Regions from separate parts of the Homo sapiens genome. Here region 2 is linked to region 1. Evidence: promoter capture Hi-C in 16 types of primary human blood cells and fetal thymus (Javierre and others, 2016). All regions are on one chromosome and are shown on one strand. The core of a region is centred on a gene start or on the middle of the fragment in contact, and the rest is flanking DNA. Distances in the headings are between cores, read along the strand shown. Region 1 holds the start of ORC5 (origin recognition complex subunit 5). Region 2 holds the start of CCDC71L (coiled-coil domain containing 71 like).

What was found. Contacts are between HindIII fragments. The CHiCAGO score rates a contact against its expected background, and 5 or more counts as called.
Region 2: a fragment that was not itself captured here is called in contact with the fragment with the promoter of ORC5 in region 1 in 1 of 17 cell types (total CD8 T cells); the score reaches 5.2 in total CD8 T cells.

What each region holds. Positions count from the first base shown.
Region 1 is chr7:104,205,598-104,211,516 of GRCh38, forward strand. ORC5 (origin recognition complex subunit 5) reads right to left here and starts at 2,416. Exons shown (of 14, transcript NM_002553.4): 1 at 2,236-2,416. The coding sequence starts at 2,307. RefSeq lists enhancers at 2,075-2,264, 2,305-2,384, 2,435-2,594. The HindIII fragment of the contact is 7,936 bases long and covers 1-2,932 here.
Region 2 is chr7:106,655,555-106,661,340 of GRCh38, forward strand. It overlaps CCDC71L (coiled-coil domain containing 71 like), which reads right to left and starts at 5,604. Exons shown (of 1, transcript NM_175884.6): 1 at 1-5,604. The coding sequence starts at 5,342. The coding sequence ends at 4,635. RefSeq lists an enhancer at 4,378-4,427 and a silencer at 4,778-5,047. The HindIII fragment of the contact is 340 bases long and covers 2,650-2,989 here.

The sequences.
Region 1 (5,919 bases), core at 1,166-3,665:
AGCTATGGCAAAAGCAGCTCAACTGCTAAAAATAGACTAAAAATTTACTTGAAATGAATAGGTAATGTAATACATGAATCTTTTTCTGAAGTTTATATGTAACAATCATAAATTAACTGGCCCAAAAATTCTGTCTCAGCAGGATGCAGTGGCTCAAGCCTGTCATCCCAACACTTTGGGAGGCCAAGGCAGGCAGATCACTTGAGTTCAGGAGTTCGCCTGGGAAATACAGTGAAACCCCATCTCTACAAAAAACACAAAAATAGCCAGGCTTGGAGGCAAACACCTGTGGTCCCAGCTACTCGGAGGCTGAGGTGGGCGGACTGCTTGAGCCTGGGAGGCAGAGACTGCAGTGAGCCAAGATCATGCCACTGCACTCCAGCCTGGGAAAGAAAGCCAAACCCTGTCTCAAAAAACAAAAACAAAAAATTCTGTCTCAAGAATTAAATGCATGTTGCTGAGTATCTCTGCTATCCATTACATGTTGTTGCCTAATAATACCTTAAACATCTTTTCTATTGTGACCTAGAATTATATTGAACTGTTCCACTGTTATTTAACCTTTCACCTTCATAAATCTCGCTAACATAAACTGCAATAAGCTAGTACCTGACACAGAAAAGGTGCTCGGTAAATATTTATTTATTGAACAAATAAATGAGTATTCTTAGAAACATGAACCAATTTTTTATATTTCTTTGCTATAGTTGTTTGTATTTCCCACATGCACAGCACCTTGCAGAAAACTGATATTAAAATATTGTTAAACATAATTTTCATTAAAAGCAAAGGTCAAAAACTCTTCTGTGATCCACCACTAAGTTTACTCATCCCTATTTGCCAATTTGCTCTTTCAGCAGGAACATTTCTGGCTGGAGTGATCTGCGTTCCATAGATGAAATGCAGAGAACATAATCAAGAAAATGCTCCAGTAATAATATAACTATAATTGAAAGCAGTATAAATAGAAAATTAATTGAAGATGCAGTTGTTGACCTCTAACTTCCCTAAATAATGCACCCCTTTAGACAGAGGGTAGTACTTTTCCACTAATGCTTCACAGGCCACCTCAAATTGCCATGCAATATTTCTAGTTGGATGAAAGTACAGTCACGTGTACATTCAAAGATGGACCACATATACAACAGTGATCTCATAAGATTATAATACCCTATTTTCACTGTACCTTTTCTATGTTTAGACACTTTTAGATGCAGACTTATCACTGTGTTACAACTGCCTACAGTATTCAGTATAGTAGCACCGCTGTAGAGGTTTATAGCCTAGGAGGAACAGGCTACACCATACAGCCTAGGTGTATAGCAGGCTACACCATCTAGGTTTGTGTAAATACACTTTCTGATATTCACAGGGATTAAATTGCCTAACGATGCATTTCTCAGGACGTATCCCCCTCACTAAGTGGCAGCAACGCATGACTGTACTTAAAAAAGCAAACCAGAAGATGGGGGTATGAGTATGACCCTGAATTCTCATTCACTCTCTTCGCAGGTAAGATCCAAGTTTGATTAATTCCAATTCTGATTGAGTCTGAATCAAAAAGCACATCAAAGACCACCAGAAAATAGTCAAAAATAGGTTAAATTTTGAATTGGTGAACGCTACCCTCTGCCTATTGAAAGGACTCCCTACGTATCTATGTTCATCCAGACAAGACAAACTCCTCTCTAGGGCATCCTGTGAACTATCAGTTAAGGAGAAAAGTTTACCCTAGACCTCTTCTGGACTGTTACAATTCTGGAAAAGCCAGTAAATTTTTAAACCTGAAGCACTGCTTTGGCCCTTAGTGGCCTTGAAAGCAACCACCTCTCTACACTTGACTCACTCCAACTACCGCACAGAAACGTGTGAACTTACATTTGAATAAATAACACCCTGCAAACACATCTGTTACATAAATGTCATTGGGTTGGGGTAAGATAACAAGCAACTTCTAGGAGCTAATGTGGGCAAACTTCTGAAAAGTGTGGCGTGTTTCAAATACGTCTTAGGCAACGTCCTATAGTGCAGGCCGGTCGCTCTCAGACTGTCTCCTCTTCAATATTCGGAAGAGACTGTGGGTGAAGCTGCAGTACAGAACCACAACACCCCTATTTAACGTAAAAACGGCCTTTTGGCCCTCAATCCAAACACGAAAAAACAAATATTGGAACAGGTCGCAAGACTACCGAAACGTCTGCCTCCAGGATCTGGAAGACAGTTTAACTACAATACCTCTCCAAACAAGGACTGCAAGATGGACACTTGAGACTCGCGACAAAGCACCACGTTTTCCAAGTGGGGCATTCTGGCAGGCACCACCGCAGAGGCCAGTGCAGCCAGCCCACAGGACCCTTGCACAAGACGGAGCCTCTCCCGAGTCTGGCGGCCCACGCTCCCGCCGGAAACCGGACCCGCAGCGTCGTGGGAGGAGCCTGCGCTGCCGGGCTGCGGCGTGACGGCAGCGCGTACGCCGAGCGTCGCCGCCGCTCTAGTCTCAGGGCCGGAACCATCCTCTTCTCGCTGGTCCTGTGCGCGCCGAGGTTTTGCCCATTCTTGGGCTTGGTGGGGATTTCGGGCTGACGCTTTTTCCACTCAAAGGCTAAGGAGACGACATGGAGATGGGCGAATAGGGAAGGGGTGGAAGGGGTTAAGGGGGTCCCGTGGGCCTCCAATGACCCCTGAACCCCGTGCCTTTAGTTTTACCGGCTGGAAGCCCCAAGTTTAGAAACCTTGAGTGCCTAAGAAGACGGACCCGGAGCTGGGGCCCTTAGAGGGACGTGGAAGGCGGACTTAGAAGACTAATATTGTCAAAAGATGTTTTTGTTGTCGTTTTTTTCCCTGACGACGTTGTGGGAAATTAGTGGCATTGAGTACAAAACAGGGTGTAATGGGGTTTAATGCACAGCTTGGAATTACTATTTTTTGTGCAAGCTTTAAACCAGATGTGGAAAGCCTCTCAGTCCTAATGGGATGAAGTCGTAGTGTGTGTTGGTGAGGTTGATAGTAAAAATAATGCTACTTTTAGCATTAGGCTTTCACGTGTATTTATTTGTGAGGCACCTACTAGCGACTAAACACTAGAAGATTCTGGAAATAAGATACAGAAGTAGGCAAGTGCATGGTGGAAAGAGAGCTTGGCGTCCTGAAACCCCTGGGTTGGGACCACTGACTGACTCAACTGCTGAATAGGGGGACTTTGGAATAGTTGAGCCTCAACTTCCTTATCTATAAAATAGGGATAATACTGGCTAGGTTATTGCTAGGAGTAGAAGATCCTGTACATACTACCTGTTATACATAAATTTAAATTGTGGACTTCAATCTGCCCATAGATTGTAGATCAGTCTTAGATTTGTGATGGTCAAAAGGATCTTTTGAGAGTTGTGGTATATAACGTATTAGCTAGTCAAAATAGTATTTTCACAGCAACAATTCAAAAGCATTTGCCCAGGTACTTTTTAATAGAGAATTCTAAAGGTTATAATGGGACCACCCATTAAATTTCAATGTCTCCAAGGGAAGCTGGCCTCTGATACTCTCCTAAGATGGTTATACGTCCGTAACATACTGTGCATATAAGGTATACATATATTATAATCATAACACGACATCTTTATAGCATTCAATAAAACTGACTAAACTGTCTAAAATGTTAGTCTCCCTCTCTATATACTTTATGAGGACAGGAAACACTGTCTTCACAGTTCAATTTCCAGCATACACAGTTAACGCCTGGCAGTTACATAATAAAGATAATTGTTGATCTGAGAGAACATGCCTTACCATCTGGATGATTTAGGATGGTTTCTCAGAGGAGAGAACCTGGAAGCTGAGGCTGAAGAAAAGATTCACCTGTGAGACCAAGAAGGAAATTGTAAACAAAAGAATGTACAGACAAAAAGGGACAAATGGGCAATCCCATAACTGAAACTAGCAAATAGTTTTTACATATAAACCTGGAGAGTAGTAGGAGGTCAGGCTGGGGACCAATAAAGAATTGTAGGCAGAGAAGCAAATGTTGAGATTTGACTTAGAAATATTCCTTCTGGCTACAGTGTGGAAAGTGGAATCAATTTCATTTGTTGAAACGACTATTGCAGTCTCCCAAACAGTGAATAATAATGGCCTCGATAGGCAGCCAAGATGGCCGAATAGGAACAGCTCTGGTCTACAGTTCCCAGCATGAGTGATGCAGAAGACGGGTGATTTCTGCATTTCCATCTGCGGTACTGGGTTCATCTCACTACGGAGTGCCAGACAGTGGGCACAGGATAGTGGGTGCAGTGCACCGTGCACGAGCCAAAGCAGGGCGAGGCATTGCCTCACTCAGGAAATGCAAGGGATCAGGGAGTTCCCTTTCCTAGTCAAAGAAAGGGGTGACAGACAGCATCTGGAAAATCGGGTCACTCACACCCTAATACTGCGCTTTTCCGACGGGCTTAAAAAATGGCACACCAGGAGATTATATCCTGCACCTGGCTCCGACGGTCCTACGCCCACGGAGTCTCGCTGATTGCTAGCACAGCAGTCTGAGATCAAACTGCAAGGAGGCAGCGAGGCTGGGGGAGGGGCGCCCGCCATTGCCCAGGTTTGCTTAGGTAAACAAAGCAGCCAGGAAGCTAAAACTAGGTGGAGCCCACCACAGCTCAAGGAGGCCTGCCTGCCTCTGTAGGCTCCACCTCTGGGGGCAGGGCACAGACAAACAAAAAGACAGCAGTAACCTCTGCAGACTTAAATGTCCCTGTCTGACAGCTTTGAAGAGAGCAGTGGTTCTCCCAGCATGCAGCTAGAGATCTGAGAACGGGCAGACTGCCTCCTCAAGTAGGTCCCTGACCCCTGACCCCTGAGCAGCCTAACTGGGAGGCACCCCCCAGTAAGGGCAGAATGACACCTCACACAGCCGGGTACTCCTCTGAGACAAAACTTCCAGAGGAATGATCAGGCAGCAACATTTGCTGTTCACCAATATCCACTGTTCTGCAGCATCCACTGCTGATACCCACGCAAACAGGGTCTGGAGTGGTCCTCTAGCAAACTCCAACAGACCTGCAGCTGAGGGTCCTGTCTGTTAGAAGGAAAACTAACAAACAGAAGGGACATCCACACCAAAAACCCATCTGTACATCACCAGCATCAAAGACCAAAAGTAAATAAAACCACAAAGATGGGGAAAAAACAGAGCAGAAAAACTGGAAACTCTAAAAAGCAGAGTGCCTCTCCTCCTCCAAAGGAACGCAGTTCCTCACCAGCAATGGAACAAAGCTGGTCGGAGAATGACTTTGACGAGTTGAGAGAAGAAGGCTTCAGACGATCAAACTACTCCAAGCTACAGGAGGAAATTCAAACCAAAGGCAAAGAAGTTAAACACTTTGAAAAAAATTTAGACGAATGTATAACTAGAATAACCAATAGAGAGAAGTGCTTAAAGGAGCTGATGGAGCTGAAAGCCAAGGCTCGAGAACTACGTGAAGAATGCAGAAGCCTCAGGAGCCAATGTGATCAACTGGAAGAAAGGGTATCAGTGATGGAAGGTGAAATGAATGAAATGAAGTGAGAAGGGAACTTTAGAGAAAAAAGAATAAAAAGAAACGAACAAAGCTTCCAGGAAATATGGGACTGTGTGAAAAGACCAAATCTACGTCTGATTGGTGTACCTGAAAGTGACGGGGAGAATGGAACCAAGTTGGAAAACACTCTGCAAGATATTATCCAGGAGAACTTCCCCAATCTAGCAAGGCAGGCCAACATTCACATTCAGGAAATATAGAGAATGCCACAAAGATACTCCTTGAGAAGAGCAACTCCAAGACACATAATTGTCAGATTCACCAAAGTTGAAATGAAGGAAAAAATGTTAAGGGCAGCCAGAGAGAAAGGTTGGATTACCAACAAAGAGAAGCCCATCAGACTAACAGC
Region 2 (5,786 bases), core at 1,570-4,069, 2.5 Mb after region 1:
CTTACTGAGCTTACTCTAAGCAAATATGTAGTCCAAAACTTTTGTAAGTTCTTGGATCAACAGCTTTAAATCTATTACTGTTATAAATTCTCAGATAGTTTAAAACACATAACAGTACATTCAAATGTCTTATAGAGATATAACAAAAGAAGATGTGAATCTTTAAAAAAACTCCAACAACAAAAATTGTAATAAATCAACTTAATCCAATCTCCTACTGCATAGTCAGCAAGCTAAAAAATTATATGATTTCCTTATGTCTTCAATTTTATTCATGCACAAATTCTCTTCTCTTCATTTATCTTACAGCTTTCCCAGAGCCACACAATATTCTTGGGATGCTGAGAAACCTGGAGAGCTAAACTCACAACGGACCACTCTCAGCTTATATACCTATTCTCACTGTGCATACCTATAATTAAGAGCATTTATTTAGTACTTCCTATGTGTCTAGCATTACTACCCTTTGAAAGGGGTAGTTATTAATCCTTATAATATCCCAATAGTTTCTTTCACTAATCACATTTGATAGTTGAGGAAGCAAGGCACAAAGATTTTAAGTAACTTACCTACAGTCTCAACACTTGCAAGTCACAAAGGTATGCATAATAATTCCACCCCAGGCACTGTGACTCCACAACTATTACACTACGCTTCCTCCAACTAATAGGAACTTAGGTACAAAGACAAATTCAGCCCACACAGTACTATCTATGAATCCGGCTCTTGCTGTGCTGTTCACTAATACTCCACTTCTGCCTTCTAGACTCTAATGAAAATTCTAGCCCTGCCCTTATTCTGTGGAACAGCCCATACCACTGGTACTCAAATGGAGCACTCTTACTTCCTTTCATGCCATGAAAGAGCAAGAGCTTTAGACCTTTTGTCATCGTCACAGGGGCACCTCGGGTCAGGATTTAGAGAATTCTGAATTTTGATGCATTTTTTTTTTGTAGGATATTTTATTGCTGGCAAACTGGTTAATAAGTTGGGCTTGTAGCGCCATCCTAAAAATTCGCTAGATAATTAAAGAATTGATGGAACACAGACTCCCGAGATAGCACAAAAAACAAATCTCGAGATTTCTGGGAATTTGAAGTTCACAAAAAAGTCAAAATTTATCAAATTGTAAATTAAGATGTTTTCTGAGTCACATACAAATACAAAATACCATTTCAAAAATGTTCAAATCATTAGAAAAACTAGACACTATGTATTCTCTAAAATTTATTTACAGTTAATAAGTTAAAAAGCAAAGTACAAGCAGATTATAAATCTCAACCATAAGCACATCAAACTGTCCAGGGAAACACTTTGATTCCATTACAAACAATTGTTTTCTAATGCGCTTAAGACATAACACTCTATCAAAAAATATTTTAAACACACCAATAAATATTAGGCATGTATGTCCATTAAAAACCATTAAAGAGTCCTGTGGCAATCCTTAAAACAATGAAAAACTTTTGAGTTCAAAATTGCTCAGATATTTTGTATTCAAATATTTTTAAAATTTACTTAAGAGTTTTCTAAAAAATAGTACTATCATTTGCACACAGCAGATCAATAGGTGTCAGTCACCAGCTTAAGTTACACTTGTCAATATTCAAACTTGAATAAAATAAACACACATCACAACAGCGACACTTTGCACTATCAACAATGAAGCTTGCCCTCAACAATTATGACGTTACTGGTTTTAGTAACATAAAAATACATTGCTGGTTGACAGGAAGGATAAAAATGACATCAAGAATCTCAAAAAGTTATGTGAGGTGCCGGTCACCACATTTAGGCACTCAGGAATTAAAAATCAAATAAAAGCATAGCGAGGTGATGAATTTCCTCCTGGCTTCCCCCTCTACTTGTGCCATATGAGATAAAAGAGAAGGCAAGAGAATGAACGAAGATCATGAGATTTCTTTCAAAAACTATACACAAGCTAAGCTACAGACTTCACTTCAGAGGAGTAAGTGGATGCCTCATTATAAAGGCCACTATGCCAAGTTTCTTTTCACATTCTGTGACAAAGTACCCATGAAATACTTTCACTTTCCTATTAGTATACCAGTCAACTATATTAGATGTTGCTTCACATTTTAAAAGTTGTCACATAGGTTTTTACCAAAGGGCAAAAATAAAGATTTTTTACATCTTATTTCACAGACTAGAAATGGCATAATTTTTGAATAGTCCAGATGAATACCATATTGAATTCAAGATGGACAATCAGATCCAAAATGGAATCAGATAGCCCATGTAATCCAAAGAAGCATTTATGTGAGTTCAAGTATGCTAAAGTAACAAGGCATAGGAGAGAAAAATGTCAAGAATCTCAGTTAAAATAAATGAATGGTGTCAGTGGTTATGTTTCAGTGGTGTGCTGAGCAGTTATCCTCCCAGTTAAGCCAAATTTCAAAATCCTCTGGAAAACTATCTAGATAAGCTGTATGTCGAAATTGCATTCTAATATGGCCATTGGGTTTATTTTTCATTATTATAAAACTATATACAATAGTAAAGTTGTACAAATACATTTTTTCCAGGTGCTAGTTAGCTATAAAAGTTAACAATATATTTTTGGGAAGAAAACCCTATGCATCTGAAATACAATTGGCAATGGAAGCTAATAACCAAAAGATATGTCTAAGCTTCCTATCACAAATATAATTTAACACTCTCCATCTTCTAAGGAATTATTCATTTTTATTTACTCATGTGACAGTGTTTGTACAATGCATTATCATTGAGTAGTGAATAAAAGACTGAGGCTTACTAGAAAACTGGCATCAAGTTATATATATGTGTGTATATATATATCATATTATTTCTTTTAACAAGAACACTGAAATTGAAGTCACAACACTCCTATACGGACTACTAAACTTGAAATACTCATTTCAGAAAGCTATGCCATTTGAATTCTAGGAACGCAAGAGTCAAAATTGTAACTCTCATTATTCTCCTAAAAAGCTGCCAAGCAGAGATAAGCTTTAGTATTAAAGATTTCACATGTCAAGTTCCAGCCCAGTATGGATCGTTTCATGGCAGAATACTTAAATTTGAAATAATAGTGGTACAAAAACACTACTTGACCCTTTAGGTATTGCAGTAAAAGCTGGCTGTGGCACTGCTGGCTAAAAACTATTAAGTTTTCCTGCCACAAATGACCAAAGGCACTTGGATAATCAAGAATTCCACACTGGGCCATATGGTATAAACACTATAAAAGCGTAAAGAAGGGTCAGTATTCTGTGTGTCTCGCCTGTTTGATTCCTGTGGTCTTCAGCTGTCAAAGACCTAGAACTGCAAACATATAATGAGTGGCAAAAAGGTTAAAAAAAATGTTGGGACAAAAAAATCAACTAAAAATCAACTAATTTTCATTATGTTTGTAAAACTGATGAATATTAGTCTAGACATTTCTTGTTATCCAACAACAAAAACAAAAAGGAAATAGATTTCGCCCAAAGTAACCTTAACCAGTTATTTGATACCAAGAAATGCCTCCACCCCTCTTGATCATTAATAGTTCTAAGAATTCTAATGGGTATTCTGTTTATCATTTTAGTGATAATGTTTACACACATCCATCTCTCCTATGCAACTCCCATTTTAAAATACATTATCCTTGTAAAATACATTACAAGGATAATGTATTTTAAAATACTTTAACGCATAATATTCCTAGATTTGTATGTTAGACCAGGACAGGGGGCCAAATCATCTCCAGTCGGATTCCAGTGACTCCTGTAACCAAAACCAGTTCTTCACAATTTATTCATTTTTTTTAATCACACACCATATGGTTTCAATGCATTTTTTTATTCAATTCAAAAGAATTTAACAAGTTAACTTTTCCTAAACAAAAGTTTTCATGTGTATTCTACCATTTTTAGGAGCTCAGTAAATATAAACATTGTTTCAATACAAAACCTTTAAAAATACCTTGAAAATGTTTAAACAGTTGTATTTTGCATGTCTTTGTTTGTAATCACTGAGCCCATACAAATCCTTGCACTACTAACAGTCACAAGCTTGAACCTCTTAAAAAATATCCTCGATCAAAGCTTTGGAATCCAGTAAAAATTAGGAAACGAGTGGGCTTCAGAATACCCTGAGCACAAACTAGTGCAACACCACATGTTCGAACTTCTGTCCACAAAGAGGGGTGACAGTGAAATAGAAAAAGGGGGAGATAAAGAACAAGTAAATTCTGGCTTTATTACACAAGCACGAAACCAAATTCCTTTGGAAAAATAATGTCTTCGGAGGACTTCCAGACCAGTGAGGTAGAGTCCAACAGTGAGAAAACGGATCTGCCCCTAAGGTCCTGGAGACGTCTCAATCGGTGGTCAGGAAGAAAGGGACCTCCCCTGCGGGTCCAGCTGTCCCCTCCCTCCGCAGGCCGGGTACGGGAGGCAGCAGAGGGCACACCTGCCCCAGCGTCCAAGACGACCGCGCCGCGGCCCGGGACAGGGACAACCATCCGGCAACTTCTTCGCGCGTAAAGTGCATTGGGGGCCGGGGTCCTGGCCGGATCTGTAAACACTCGACTGACACTTGTTCATTCCTCCGGGCGGAAGGCCTGTCCCAAGGTCGGGGCCGGCAGGAGGCGCCCTGGAGGCCGCACCTCATGCCCGGGGCACCGGGAAGCGGCGGAGCCTCACCATGGGTTCCAGGTTCACTCGCAGGACCTGGCGCGCCCTGCGCCGCGCTGCCGCCAGGCTGCGCTCGCCCCACACGTCGCTGCCGACGCGGATGGTGGGGAAGGTGGTCAGCGTCGGGGTGGCCGCCCTCCAGATCTCCTCCAAGGTGCGGCCCCCGAAGCAGGGCCCGGGGGCCACGGGCTTGGCCGGGCAGCTCTCCTCGGGGGGCGGCGGCGGTGGGGGTGGCGGCCGGGGCTTCCTCCTGCGGGCAGCGGCCGCCCGGGCTCCGCGGCGCCTCCTCCTGGCCGCTGCGCGCGGAACCGGCCGGCGCGCCTGGCCGCGGGCTGTAGGGGGCCCCGGGGGGTCGGGTACCAGGGCCCGGCAGGAGGAGTAGCCGTAGACGTCCTTGCTGCGCAGGATGTGCGGGGAGAACTGGTGCTTGAGGCTGCAGAGGAAGCTCCAGAGCTCCGCGTCCGAGCTCATGAACTCCGTGCTGCGGGGCATGAAGAGCTTGAAGGCGTCGCCCAGCGCCTTGGTGCTGTCAGCCAGCGACAGTTGCGACCGCGAGTACACCACCTTCTCCTCCCGCGCCTCCAACCCAGCCCCGTCTTCTGCCCTAAAGTCGCCGCCCCGGGCGGCCGTGGCCGGGGCGACCGGGCGCCGGCGCCGCCGCCTCTTCATACTGCGCCGCATCGAAGGCCGCTCCGGGCCACTCACGCTCGCCGGGTCCCACTACTGCCGCCGCCGTCCCAGTCCGCGTTGGCTCCGCGGCGGCGGCTGCTGCTGGCGTCTCTCGCTACTTTTCTCGCCTCCGCCGCCGCCCCTCCCCCTCCGAGGGCGGAGGACGCGGGCGAATATCCTGCTGCCCGGTACAAGATGGCGGCCGGCGCCCACCCCTGGGCTTTGTCATTGGACGGCGCCTCGCCCCCCTGGTTTCTCTTTCTTCTCCTCTCTTGCCTCTTTTCGCCGGCTGCCTTTCTTTAAATGTGCCCGCCTCAGGCCCCTCCCACCGCAGCCCCGACTCCACCCATTGGGTGCTCTCAGAAGAGGGGCGGGGACTGATGGGGGAGAGGCCAGTTCCTGGAAGATGGTGCTGGGGTGGGTGATGGCCTTTGAACGTAAGTCAACGGTTGGGTG